Regions from separate parts of the Homo sapiens genome. Here regions 2, 3, 4 and 5 are each linked to region 1. The links are contacts of gene promoters, found by promoter capture Hi-C in blood cells and fetal thymus (Javierre and others, 2016). All regions are on one chromosome and are shown on one strand. The core of a region is centred on a gene start or on the middle of the fragment in contact, and the rest is flanking DNA. Distances in the headings are between cores, read along the strand shown.

Region 1 (2,598 bases), core at 29-2,528:
TCAAGCGATTCTCCTGCATCAAGCCTCCCGAGTAGCTGGGAGTAGCTGGGACTACAGGAGCACGCCACCACACCCGGCTATTTATGTATTTAATTAATTAATTTATTTATTTTTTGAGACGGAGTCTCGCTCTGTTGCCCAGGCTGGAGTGCAGTGGTGCGATCTCGGCTCACTACAAGATCCGCCTTCCAGGTTCACGCGATTCTTGTGCGTCAGCCTCCGGAGTAGCTGGGACTACAGGCGCCTGTCTCCACGCCCGGCTAATTTTTTTTGTGTGTGTGTATTTTTAGTAGAGACGGGGTTTCACCGTGTTAGCCAGGATGGCCTCGATCTCCAGACCTCGTGATTCGCCCGCCTCGGCCTCCCAAAGTGCTGGGATTACAGGCGTGAGCCACCGCGCCCGACCTGTCCCTTGACTTTTTTACTGTCCTGAGATGCCAGGCTTATGTGGGCGGTGTGTTCCCAGCAGAAGATGATCCCGTGGAAGTCCCGGGGGATGAAGGTTAGGTTAGTCCCAGTGCCAGCCTTTGGTAGAAACTCAGGACCTGATAGGTAGAAAGGCGACGAAGAGAGCCTGCTCTTCTTCAAGTTCTACTTTTGCCATCCTAATTCCCCTCGCTCTAAGGATAAAACCAAGCTTGATGAAGCCGCCTTAAAACTGCCCCTTCAAGTGGGAGCCCTCATCTCATTTTTATCCAGGAAAGAGCCCAGAGCATCTGCCGCGGCCTGTAGGCTCTTCTCTGCCAGGCTGGCTTCCGAAATTTCACGGTGGCGGGTACCTTAAGGCCACTCGGCCGGGCAACTGGCAGGAAGATGAAGGTGGGCTTTAAGGAGGAGCACAGCTATGCCCATCTCAGACTCTGGAGACCCGAACGAACTCTAATCTGAATGTGTGACCTTGGGCAAATCACTTACCCTCCCCAGGCCTCGGTTCCCTTATCTGCAAAGTAAAGGTAGCCCTAAAGTCCCCGCCAGGTGTGAATGGGACTTTAAGTCCATCAGGCAGGATGTTGATGGCACTGCGCCAGGGCCCCGGGTCGGCGTGGGGCGGGGGCGCGCCAACGCGGGGCCGGCACCGAGGACTGGGTGGCCCGGGAGAAAAGCGGCGACTGCGCGGCTGCGCGGGGGACGGTGCACACAGTGCTGCGCCCCCCGCCTCTTGGCTCGCTGCCGCGGCCCGGGGGCCACGAGGTTACGTAAGGAGCCGGGCGGGGGTAGCGGCTGGGGAGGGCGGGGCGGGCACCGCCCCAGCGCGGCCGCCCAGCCCCCGCCCGCCCGCGCCTGGCGGCGGTGGCGGCAGTGGCAGCAGTGGCAGCCGCGCAGCCCCGCGGAATGGAGCGGCGCCGGGGCTGAGCCGGGCGCGCACGGGCCGCCGCATGTGCCGCGCGGGGAGCGGCTGCCGAGCGGGCGGAGAGCGAGCGCGAGAGGCCCCGTCGGAGCGGCCGCCGGAGCAGCGCCGGAGATGGGGTGAGTGAGCCCGCGCCGCGCGCTCTCCGCGCGCCCCTCCGGAGGGACTGCGGGGCCGCGGCTGGCGTAACCGGGCTCGGAGCCTCCCGGCGGGCCGGCCCCCGCCTCCCCAAGCCGGAGCGAGCGCACACTCTGCGCCCGGGAGTCTGGGGCCACCTGACCCGCGCCCTCCGCCGGGGCACGCGGACACCCAGCAGGGGCACCCTGGCCTGGGCGCGGAGCCCGTGGCCCTTCCCCTCCCATACAGCCCGGGCACGGGGGCACCTGACGGGGACCGGTGCCCTGGCCGGCCTCCTGCCTCGGCCATTCCGCGGTCTCTTCGCCCCTGGGCGCAGTCAACTCCAGGGCCTGTGTGAGTCTAAGCAGTTTGTCGTTCTCCACGTTTGGATTTATTACAAGCAAAATGGAAATCGAAGTTTTCCTGGAAATAATCAAATAATAATAAACCTCCAGCGTAGGAATAGTGGACTTTGGATCTGCTTTGAGATGCTGAAGATGATGGAAGTCTATAAGGAACCTAGGTGAGGCTTCAGTCTTTGAAACAACTGAGTAGATGCTCAGGAGGGAAGTTGAAATACTCTGTCGAAGTGACTAATGCTTCTGAGTATATAAAGTAATTTAAGCTTTCCCCTCGGCGTCTCTCTGAGCAGTAGGCTCTGTGAGTCTGGGAGCCACTGTGCTAATAGCACAATAACTCCTTACATCTGCTCACTCTATTTGGGCACACGTTGACGGTTTGCCATACGTATTCAGGGGACACTTATGTCCACTTTACAGATGAGGAAACTGAGGCACAAAGTGGTTCGGTGACTTCCCCCAGGCTGTGTAGTTGATGAGCATTTGTGTAGCAGGGGTGGCCTTGCCACTGCCTGACGTGGGCATGGAGGCGGGTAAGTGAACCAGAATTCCTAAATCTCTCTGTTCCCTGCTGCTGAACCCAGCATTCTTCCAACAGCCCTTCGCAGGACTCAAATGCTTCTGCTCCAAGGGTCTAGAGATCTTGCTTTCCTGTTTGGGATGGGTGGGGCCTGGGAAGGCAAGAGTGCAGTGGAAGGAGCAAGATTGTCCTGGTGCCCTGGCTCAGCCCCCCTGGGTCAGTGGCTTTCTTGCACCGTACTCCAGGTTAAGTTT
Region 2 (2,598 bases), core at 26-2,525, 240 kb before region 1:
TCTAAATCATTAATTTCTGATCTCATCTTCACTACCTTTCCCCAAGTATATTTTTCTTTTCTTCTATTTCAAACTTAATGAAATAAAGTCTTATTTAATTTTTTTGAAATCTTTTTGAAAATGAAAACTTTTAAAGCTAGTTTTCCTCAGGTCATATTTGGCTTCATGATGTAGATTTGAATAATTGGTGTTTTATAGTCATTTTCAAAATAGGTTTTGTGATTTTCATTTCTGAGTTGGCCCAAGAGATATTTAGGAGAGAATTTTAGGAATTATAACTGGCTAAAGAGTTTGTATGTAATGCTTTATTGTTTTTTAATATGGTTATCTTGTAGTCAGATTATGTATCCTTTTTAACTATTTTAATTCATTTAGTGTTCTTTTCATATGTGATCAACTTTTAAAAAATGGTTTTTGTATTCCTGAAAAGAAAGCTTCTTTAGGAGTCAATAAGTATATTGACTTAATAAATGAGTCAATAAGTATATTGACTTAATAAATAAGTCAATAAATATAATGGACAAATATAAATATATTGATATTTACTAATATATTTTTTAAAATTCTTAATGTTTATTTTTTGTCAACTACTCTCTCCAAAATGAAGAGGTATATAAATCTAACATATCTATTATATTTCTACATATCTGTCCCTTTTTTTGACCGTTTATTTAATAAATGTCAGGGCTTTATTTGGCACATAAATGTGTATAACTTGTAACTTCAGGATGGAGTCAAAATATAGTGATCTGCTATTTCATACTTTCTAGCACATAAGTTATAGTACTTCGTTGGATATTAGTTTTGTAACCTGTTTTCATTTTTGCTTTTATTTCACTAATACATCTTTATCCAGAATTTTACTCAAAACTTTTCTGTTTTGTTTTAAGATATAAGTATATGTAACTTAATTTTTTTAACCATTCCTAGGAGATTTTTTTCCCTTTTTTCATTCTTTGCCAAATTTTGTAAGAACCTGGTTTTCAGCATTTAAGCATATAACATTCTTAATTTCTGTCATTGAAACTTTTACTTTTTAAATTTTCAGTTATTTCCATGTGAAGGTAGAACTACGTGAATTGGGTAACATTAATGTTCTACCATTATAATCTCATTAGGTGTTTATTGAGTATCTCTTCTGGGTTAGTAACTGTGATAGACTTAGCATTATAAAAATTAATAAGACATGATTTTAACATTAAAGAGCTTGAGATAGATTAAGGAACAGAAACATGTACATAGAGGAATACAAGTGCAATATATGTAGATCTCGATGACAATATTTTTCTTTTATTTTTTTAAAAAGACACATTTATTCAGTATCATGATCAGACTATTACATTTAGCAATCAACAGCATGGGTGCAAAAAAAAATCTACATTAAAAAACCTTTGTTGGAATGTTTTACACTTTCCACATAACAGAAACTAAAATAACCTGTTATACAATTAGTCACAAATACAATCCTCAAGTTTTTTGCCCAATATTTGTCTGAAACATGATGACAGGATTTTTCTATCTTTGCAATTAGACTAAATGAACAAGAATGAGCCAAAACTGACTAAGAAAGAGCGTGGAAAAGAGAATACATGGAGACATTTTTAATTGGCAATTTATTACAAAAAGACTGGGTTTCAGCTTTTTTTGTCATACGATATTGAAATGTAGTTTTTGGAACTGTCTACATTATTTGTAATACAACTATATAGTCTTACCATTAGAAAGAGATAACACTGCATCCTGAGTGAGCCCTCCTTTACATTTTGTTCTATTGCTTTTTCCTTCCCTGCAGGCAATTTCAAAGTCTTTAATGAAAATTTAAATGATAGTACCTTCTGAGACATAAGATTTAAGATGATTTTCAGTGTTGTTTTCGAAGGGATGAGAAAGCTAAAATGCATTAATCTCTTTTACCAACTGACTTGCTCAGTTACAGAGCAAGTAAGTGGAAGGGAGCTGCACTAAAATTCATTGCCGTCTGCACCCATCTCCATAGGATGCCAGGAGGAAGTGAAAGGAGATAAGGAATTCACACTAACCACTTTGACAATTAGGCAGAAACCCTGAATTTATTTTAGGTAAAGAAAAGGTGAAAACCAGACTTGGAATAAGCTTTTTATGTGCTCATTGTAATTAAAAAAAAATTTTAATTGTAAAAATACATAGAATGTAATTTATACCATCTTAATAATCATTTTAAGTGTATAGTTTATGTAATATTAAGTACATTGTTTTGTAACCATCACCACTCTCTATCTCCAGAACTCTTTTCATCTTGCAAAACAAACTATACCCATTAAAAAATAACTCTACATTCCCTGCCTCCTAGTCCCTGGCAATCACCTCTCCACTTTGTGTCTCTATGAGTGGGCTACTCTGGGTACCTCATACAGATGGAATTATACGGTATGTGTTTTTTTGTGACTGGCTTATTTCACTTAGCATAATATCCTTGAGGCTCATGTATGTCCAAATTTTCTTCCTTTTTGAGACTGAATAACATCCCATTGTGTATATGTAAAACATTTTGTTTATTCATCCACTGATGGATACCTGAGTTTTTTTCACCTTTTGGTTATTGTGAATGATGCTGTTATG
Region 3 (2,598 bases), core at 44-2,543, 210 kb after region 1:
GACTCCATCTCAAAAAAAAAAAAAAAAAAGAAAAAAAAGGTTTCTGTTGATATATCATCATATATCATATCTTTCCTCACCATGTCCAGTCTATTAGCCCATCAAAGACATTCTTCATTTTCTATTCACAGTGTTTTTTATCTCTTGCATTTTTTTTGGTTCTTTTTTGTTTTTATTTTATTTTGTTTATTTATTTATTTTGGAGATAGAGCCTCACTGTTACCCAGGCTGGAATGCAGTGGCATGATCTCGGCTCACTGCAACCTCTGTTTCCTGGGTCTGGGTTCAAGAGATTCTTGTGCCTCAGCCTCACAAGAAGCTGGGACTACAGGCACGCACCACCACCCCCTGCTAATTTTTTTGTATTTTTAGTAGAGACAGGGTTTCGCCATGTTGCCCAGGCTGGTCTCGAACTCCTGAGCTCAGGCAATCTGCCCCACTTCGGCCTCCCAAAGTGTTAGGATTATAGGTGTAAGCCACTGCTCCCAGCGTCTTTTTGGTTCTTTCTTAGGATTTCCATCTCTCTGTTTACACTGACCATCTGTTCTTGCATGCTGTCTACTTTACCCATTAAAGCTGTTAGTATATTAATCAAAGTTGTTTAAAATTTCTTGTCTAATAATTCCAACATTCCTGCCATGTCTGGTTCTGATGCTTGCTCTGTCTCTTCAAAATGTGTGTTTTGCCTTTTAGTTTGCCTTGTAATTTTTTCTTCATAGCTGGACAGGATGTACCAGGGAAAAGGAACTGCTGCAAATAGGCCTTTAGTAATGTGGGGGTAAGGTGTGGGGAGAGGGAAAGTATTCCTCTATGAACCCTATGATTAGGTCTCAGTCTTTTAGTGAGCATGTGCTTCTGGAATGTGAACTTTACAAGTGCTTCTCAGTTTTTTTCTTCCCCCTTAGGTGGGACAAGATGGCCAGAGTGGGCTGGCGTTGGGCATTTTTCCCTTCTCCCAGGCCAGTTAGGCTCTGATAAAACTCCAGCCATTTAGGCTCTGATTAAATATTTCTCCCGAGGGCAGACTTTGTTAAGAACAGCATGCTCTGGCATGTTTCGAAATGGTTCTTTTTCTTCTTCTCCTGCTAGAAGCATGACAAGATTTTTCTCTAATATTTATTGTGAGAACCTGGTCAAACTCTTGGAGGTAAAACTCACAGAAGCTTGGGTTCTCCCTCCCCTGTTTCTGGTTTCTTCTGGAATTTTTGACTCTCAGACTTGTCTACACTTGCCTCTGGCAATTCAATTACAGTTCATGTTTTTCTGCCCTGGCATTGGTTCCTTTGTGGAGATTTCTGCTCTGGGTAGCTTGTGACTTTTGTACATACCTGTCTGCCTCTCCAATTTTGGGGATAGTGGTTTGCCCTGTGACCTCACTTTTCTTCTGGATTTAAGAAAAATTATGTCAGTTCGTTAAGCTTTTCTTTCTTTTTTTTTTTTCTGAGACAAAGTGTTGCTCTGTTGCCCAGGGTGGAGTGCAGTGGCGTGATCTCACCCATCTTTATTTCACATTGGAAGTATTCCTCAAATGTCTGGAGTGGGGGGGTCTTGACTGTTTATATTTTTTAATGAAGTAATAAGTGGATTACGAGCTCTCTTGTGTGGAACTTTTCTGATGGCCAAGATGATGGGACAGGAATGCTGACATTTTACTGTAATGGGTAGAATGCAGGGGATTTTCTACGGAGCCCTTAGATTTATTTCCAGAATAACGTTTCAGCGTGATGTGTGAATGTATGGGAAATTCTGGATGGTCTGTGTTCCTCCTATCACACCTTCACCCTGGGGGTAGATTCTTGGCTGTAAGGCATTCTGCATGCAGAGGTGGAAGGGAAGGAAAACTGTTTCATATGTGGAATCTTGGCCTTATATCTCATTCCTGTACTCAGTTGTCTCTGATATTTCCTGGTTCTGGACCCTTCTAGCATTCCGTAGTGTGAATTGTTTTTTTCCTGGGGTATATCTTCCACCCTCTGCAGTTTCTTCTGCTTCCCCCCCGCATCAGTATCATTCCTTCATCAGCTATCTTCCAAAATTTCTTTGAAATCTCTGATCTACTAATGATCTTTTCCCCATTCTCTTGTTTAGATCTTTATGTTTCTTTTCCCATTCTCTTATTTATATCTTTATGTCTCTTTTTATTTCTTAAGTATGATTTTAATGAAACTTAGGAGGGTGAGATGATAAATCATGTTTTCAATTTTAACAAGGCAAAAACAAGCTCATCAAGCATTCACTGGTTGGGCGCTGTGGCTCACACCTGTAATCTCAGCACTTTGGGAGGCCGAGGTAGGGCAGATTGCCTGAGCTCAGTAGTTCAAGACTAGCCTGGCCAACATGGTGAAACCCCATCTCTACTAAAAATACAAAAATTAGCCAGGCGTGGTGGCTCACGCCTGTAATCCCAGCACTTTGGGAGGCTGAGGTAGGGCAGATTGCCTGAGCTCAGGAGTTCAAGACCAGCCTGGCCAAGATGGTGAAACCCCATCTCTACTAAAAATACAAAAATTAGCCAGGTGTGGTGTTGGGCGCCTGTAATCCCAGCTACTCGGGAGGCTGAGGCAGGGAGAATGCTTGAACCCGGGAGGTGGAGGTTGC
Region 4 (2,598 bases), core at 71-2,570, 190 kb after region 1:
AGGTAGGAGTATTGTTTGAGCCCTGGACTTCAAAGCCAGCTTGGGCAACATAGCAAGACCCCGTCTCTAAAAAAAAAAAAATAATAAAATAAAAAAATAAAATAAAATAAAAGAATAAAAATAAGAAGACCACACCTCACAGCAATTAGATAATCCAAACGACATGGATTTGGAACTTGGATTCAAACTCAAGCAGTCTGGTTCCAAAGATTTCATTCCTAACCACTTAAGTGATAGATTTTTCATTTCTGTTCACCTTTAGTATTAAGCCAATACAGTTTGCTTTGAAGCCCCAGTTCCATCTTTTTAAGTAAATGTGGGCAAGAGGCTTAGTAGTTATGGCTAATTCTGGTTTGCTCCTGCTGCTGGGCACTCTGTCTTTACACATGGAGTAGTTCCATATAGTGGGAAAAAAAGTCTCACGAAGCCCAGGCCAATGAATACACTTTCAGACTTAGAAGGCCATGGTTACAACCTTCCTTCACCTCAAAAACTGAAAAACAAGACCCCACACTGCTTTCCTATCACACCTTGTAAAATGGGGCCTCTGACCCTCCTTGATTTGATGAATCCTATTAATGTTCATCCAATGCTCTCTGCCCATGATCCTCTATCATGGTTATTTACACATTATGTGTCATGCCCAAGCATAAGTGGGAAAACCAACTTCCCCTCCGATAACAGATGAAGACTCTAATGAAATCTACTAAACCTCACACCCAGTTTGGGGAATCCAAGAATTACTATACACTGAGGCAGATACTTTATTTGGGGATTCTGCCTGAAGTAAGACTAAAGAGCAAAGTCTCTTCTTTAGAAAGGCAAGAACAAGGGGCAGAGTAAAACTAAGGGAGCATAAAGAAAGCCTAGAAGTCCACGTGTAGAGGGAAGAATAAAGGGGGTAAGAAGACACAATAGAAGAGGGGTGGAAACAGAAGAATGACAAAAGAAGGGCAAAAGCTACAGTCCAAGTGCTAGAGCCAAGCCAGTTTCTTACAGATGTAGGGTGTGTGTGTGTGTGTGTGTGCGTGCACGCACACACGTGCACACACGTTACAAGTGGAGAATGAAGGTAAGGTATCCTAGGATAAGGTCTCCTAGCAGACTTGCATTTTTGGCTCATAGTATTAGACTTTATTGGTGGTAGCATAGAAAGTAGAAGAAACGACTCATAGCTTCTGGCAGCTGCTTAGTTAAATTAAGGTGAAATGGGCTAGAGACAGGCAGGCTTCCTCTGACACGTTTAGATCATATTCCAAGTGTTTATCCCAGTAGCCTAGACTAGCCTGTTGACACAAAGAGCTCTTCAAATATCTGTAGGTAGCAGGGTTAGGAAATTCCTGTGACAGGTTTTCATTTCTGCCATTTTTCAAAGTACACAGGATGTAGAGCATGGATAGTGATATAGTATTGATTGGTAACAGGCCCACTGGCTCCCCACTCAATATGAAAGTTTAAGAACTGGAGTAACTGTGCATAGAAGAGCTTATACCAAGAAGCCCATTTTATCACATGGAAAATCACAAGGTTCCCTGTTTCAAATGTCTAATCCAAATTTTAAAAACATGTTCTATTCCTATGCTAGTTTAGATGAAAGAGAGTTCAGGATGCTATAGGTAAATTTCTTAGGTTAAGAGGTTGCTAGAGAAAAAATGATGTTTGAAAAATGTTTCGGCCAGAAGCAGTGGCTCACACTTGTAATCCCAGCACTTTGGGAGGCCAAGGCAAGTGGACTGCCTGAGCTCAGGAGTTCGAGACCAGCCTGGGCAACACAGTGAAACCCTGTCTCTACTAAAAATACAAAAATTAGCCGGGCTTGGTGGTGCACGCCTGTAATCCCAGCTACTCAGGAGGCTAAGGTGGGAGAATTGCTTGAACCCAGGAGGCTGAGGTTGCAGTGAGCCGAGATTGCACCACTGCACTCCAGCCTGGGTGACAGAGCAAGACTCCATCTAAAAAAAAAAAAGAAAATGTTTCTTAGGACAAATTTTAGAAAAGAGATAGTTTAGAGAGTATAGTTTTAGAAATGGCTTGTCACCTTGGTAGTCATTTAATACTAGAAAATAGCAAAATCATAGGACTATGAATAAAATTAGTATGAAATGTTCTATAAATAGTCAATCTATAGAATTACTGAAACTTTATTATGTCAAATTTAATTTTCAGGCATAAGTATGAATTTCTGCACAACAGAACAACTCCAGATATAAGAATAACAGTTCCACCAAAGAAGATTGGCATTCTATTAGACTATGAACATTCAAAGTTGTCATTTTTCAATGTGGACCTTTCTCAGCATCTATATACATTTAGTTGTCAGCTTCACGAATTTGTGCATCCCTGTTTTTCTTTGGAAAAGCCTGGGTGTCTAAAGGTACATAATGGCATTTCAATGCCAAAACATGTCACTTTCTATTAGAACATTCTGATGTCCAGTTTCCTGTCTTCCATGCCTACCCCTCTCGCAGCTGCTCACGCCTTAGCTGGCTGAACCTGGCACTTAAGCACCATGTGCCCAGCACAATTTATGGCTCATGCTATTATCTGACTGGTGTGCTAGCGCTCATTTCACCCAACCTGGATTCTAGTCCTGTGTGC
Region 5 (2,598 bases), core at 27-2,526, 180 kb before region 1:
GCCTGGGCAACATAGCAAGACCCTGTCTCAAGTTAAAAAAAAAATGATAAATTTACTTCAGTAAACTCTTCACAACCAAATTATTCACACGTAAGTTTCCATATCTCTTTGTGAGAAAAAGACATGACATAGCACCTACATAGCCAGGGAGTTAGAGAGTCTGAGGGCAGCACCTGACTGAAGTAACTGAACCTCCTTCGCTGGCTGTGGGATGGCAGGCTCCTTACCAAGCCCATGGTGAGTCTGTCCCAAAGCTTTCACCCAGTTTCTTTGTTTTCTTGGTAATTATATACAATACACTTAATTTAATTAGTTTGTCTTCAGGTTAATCTTCGGAACAACATAAGGCATATCTCCAAATTCTTACTGGGAATCTTCTACCAGTAATAGTAGCAACAAAGGGTTACATAGCTGTTATGTGCCAGACACTGTTTTAAGCCCTTTACATGTATTACCTCATCCAACCCTAACAGCAATTCCATGAGAAAGCTACTGTTATTATCCTCACTTTACAGAAGAGGAAACTGAGGATCAGAGAGGTAAAGTAGCCAAGGTCATTGTGCTCATCAGCAACAGGCTAGAATCTGAACCAGTTCACCTCCAGAGCTTATGTTCCTAACTATATGAACTCTACTGGCTTTGGCTTTTTTTCATTTTCATTGATATTTTAGCAGAGAAAATGCTTCAATTGATAGGAAATGCTAATAAGTGGATCTAAGCAGCCTATAATGCCTTTCAGATTACACTTGCAGCTTTAATCCTATGGTTAGCATTTTATATGAAAAGATACCTGGGTTATGAGTAAGTCCCCAGTGGAACTCTTTGGTCTAAAATGTGTCCTGGTTTCATTTTATTCAATCTTCTTTTACTCTTTCCTTGATCTTTTGATTTCTGAAGGCAGCAGATTTGGCAGACTCCTACATGGTCTGAAATCAAGGCCCCAATAACTACTCACTCTTTTTTCTTTCTTTTTTTTGAGACAGTCTTGCTCTGTCACCCAGGCTGCAGTGTAGTGGGCGTGATCTTGGCACACTGCAGCCTCTGCCTCCCAGGTTCAAGCGATTCTCCTGCCTCAGCCTCCCAAGTAGCTGGGATTATAGATGCCCACCACCACACCCAGCTAATTTTTTGTATTTTTAGTAGAGACGGGGTTTCGTCATGTTGGCCAGGCTGGTCTCAAACTCCTGACCTCAGGTGATCCACCTGCCTGGTCCTCCCAAAGTGCTAGGGTTACATGTGTGAGCCACTGCGCCTGGCCACTACTCAATATTTCTTCCATTGGCCTATACTGATCTAGAACTTTTCAAAGGTGGTTTTTTTTTCCCTTACTAAGTTGCATAGATTCTTGAGAGTTTACTAGATGTTTCAGTAAAAGTAAGTTTTAGTAAAGTTAGTGGGATCATGAATGCATAAGGTTTCTAAATAAGAATGGCAATTTTAGCAAGCAAAGATGCTGATTAAAGTTACAGAAAAATGCCTATTTTTGTTTTGTTTTGTTTTTTTGTGGTGGTGGGAGAGACAGGGTCTCTCTCTGTCACCTGGGCTGGAGAGTGCAGTGACACAGTCTCGGCTCACTGCAACCTCTGCCTCCTGGTTCAAGTGATCCTCCCACCTCAGCCTTCCTAGTAGCTGGGACTGCAGGCATATGCCATCACGCCAGCCTAATTTTTGTATTTTTTGTAGAGATGGGGTTTTACCATGTTGCCCAGGCTGGTTTCAAACTCCTGACTTCAAGCAGTCCACCCACCTCGGGCTCCCAAAGTGCTGGGATTACAGGTGTGAGCCACCGTGCCTTGCTGGAGAGTGCTTTCTGTGATGAATGTGTCAGATACTCCCATAAGATGAGACTCCATTTCATAAGCGAGTATTTGCTAAGTACAAAACAAATAACGTAATTCAGTATTCTGGTCATATCTATTGTTTTGTTGCGGCATGGCTTCTAACTTTTCCTTAGCCTACACACTATAAGTGGGTAGATATTAAAGCTCAGCCAAGAGCTGTGGGAATCAGACCCATAATTCTTTACTCAGTCTGTCTTCACCTGCTGGGCTGGGAGAAACATCCTTCTGACATTTACAGGATCTGGTCCTTAGCCTTAGGCTCTGGATCTGGGCATTCACCATCAAGAGAGGGGCTTCAGGCTGCCTTATCAACTGGGCAGTGATGGATAAGCCCCAGGATGCCTGACGTCTGACATGAATGAGGTAATGCCCCTGCGGCTGCCAGCTGCTCTGTAGTCCACACTGCCCTTCTCAGAACCACTTGGCTGGAGTAATAAGTGCCCACCTGCAAGCTTAGCTTCACCAACAGATTAGGGTTTGTCTTATTGCTACAGGCTTACCACACCCATTTTCCTCTAAGCTATGACCTTCCTAAGCTTCCTGACTGTTGACCCTGGCCATGTGACTAGGCTTTTGCCTAGGTTTTCCTGCTGTTTCCATTTGTCTCCTGAGACTTGACCAGGTCCAACATCTGGTCTCTTTAACCAGCCTGCTGGCTGATGACACTTAGCATTCCTGCATCAGGGACTGGTACCAGGCCGACCAGGCACATGGCAGGCAGAGGAGGCCTGATTGTGCAGGCAAAGCACAATTGACA

What was found. The method cuts DNA at HindIII sites, captures the fragments that hold promoters and counts their contacts. A CHiCAGO score of 5 or more calls a contact.
Region 2: a contact is called between a fragment that was not itself captured here and the fragment with the promoter of HOMER2 in region 1, in 2 of 17 cell types (neutrophils and megakaryocytes). The highest score is 5.7, in neutrophils.
Region 3: a contact is called between a fragment that was not itself captured here and the fragment with the promoter of HOMER2 in region 1, in 3 of 17 cell types (total B cells, naive CD4 T cells and naive CD8 T cells). The highest score is 7.3, in total B cells.
Region 4: a fragment that was not itself captured here is called in contact with the fragment with the promoter of HOMER2 in region 1 in 1 of 17 cell types (total B cells); the score reaches 5.2 in total B cells.
Region 5: a fragment that was not itself captured here is called in contact with the fragment with the promoter of HOMER2 in region 1 in 1 of 17 cell types (neutrophils); the score reaches 7.2 in neutrophils.

What each region holds. Positions count from the first base shown.
Region 1 is chr15:82,951,400-82,953,997 of GRCh38, reverse strand. HOMER2 (homer scaffold protein 2) reads left to right here and starts at 1,278. Exons shown (of 9, transcript NM_004839.4): 1 at 1,278-1,467. The coding sequence starts at 1,463. RefSeq lists an enhancer at 1,528-2,028. The HindIII fragment of the contact is 1,453 bases long and covers 640-2,092 here.
Region 2 is chr15:83,194,125-83,196,722 of GRCh38, reverse strand. All of the region lies in intron 1 of HDGFL3 (HDGF like 3), which reads left to right. Among named protein-coding and RNA genes, the nearest start is that of HDGFL3, 12 kb to the left of the region's middle. The HindIII fragment of the contact is 1,678 bases long and covers 437-2,114 here.
Region 3 is chr15:82,740,869-82,743,466 of GRCh38, reverse strand. No RefSeq gene overlaps it. Among named protein-coding and RNA genes, the nearest start is that of SNHG21, 8.4 kb to the left of the region's middle. The HindIII fragment of the contact is 255 bases long and covers 1,166-1,420 here.
Region 4 is chr15:82,759,169-82,761,766 of GRCh38, reverse strand. It overlaps FSD2 (fibronectin type III and SPRY domain containing 2), which reads left to right. Exons shown (of 13, transcript NM_001007122.4): 13 at 2,167-2,598. The coding sequence ends at 2,419. Among named protein-coding and RNA genes, the nearest start is that of SNHG21, 9.9 kb to the right of the region's middle. The HindIII fragment of the contact is 4,379 bases long and covers 1-2,598 here.
Region 5 is chr15:83,130,009-83,132,606 of GRCh38, reverse strand. All of the region lies in intron 9 of TM6SF1 (transmembrane 6 superfamily member 1), which reads right to left. HDGFL3 (HDGF like 3) reads left to right here. Exons shown (of 6, transcript NM_016073.4): 6 at 1-2,598. Among named protein-coding and RNA genes, the nearest start is that of TM6SF1, 24 kb to the right of the region's middle. The HindIII fragment of the contact is 2,039 bases long and covers 257-2,295 here.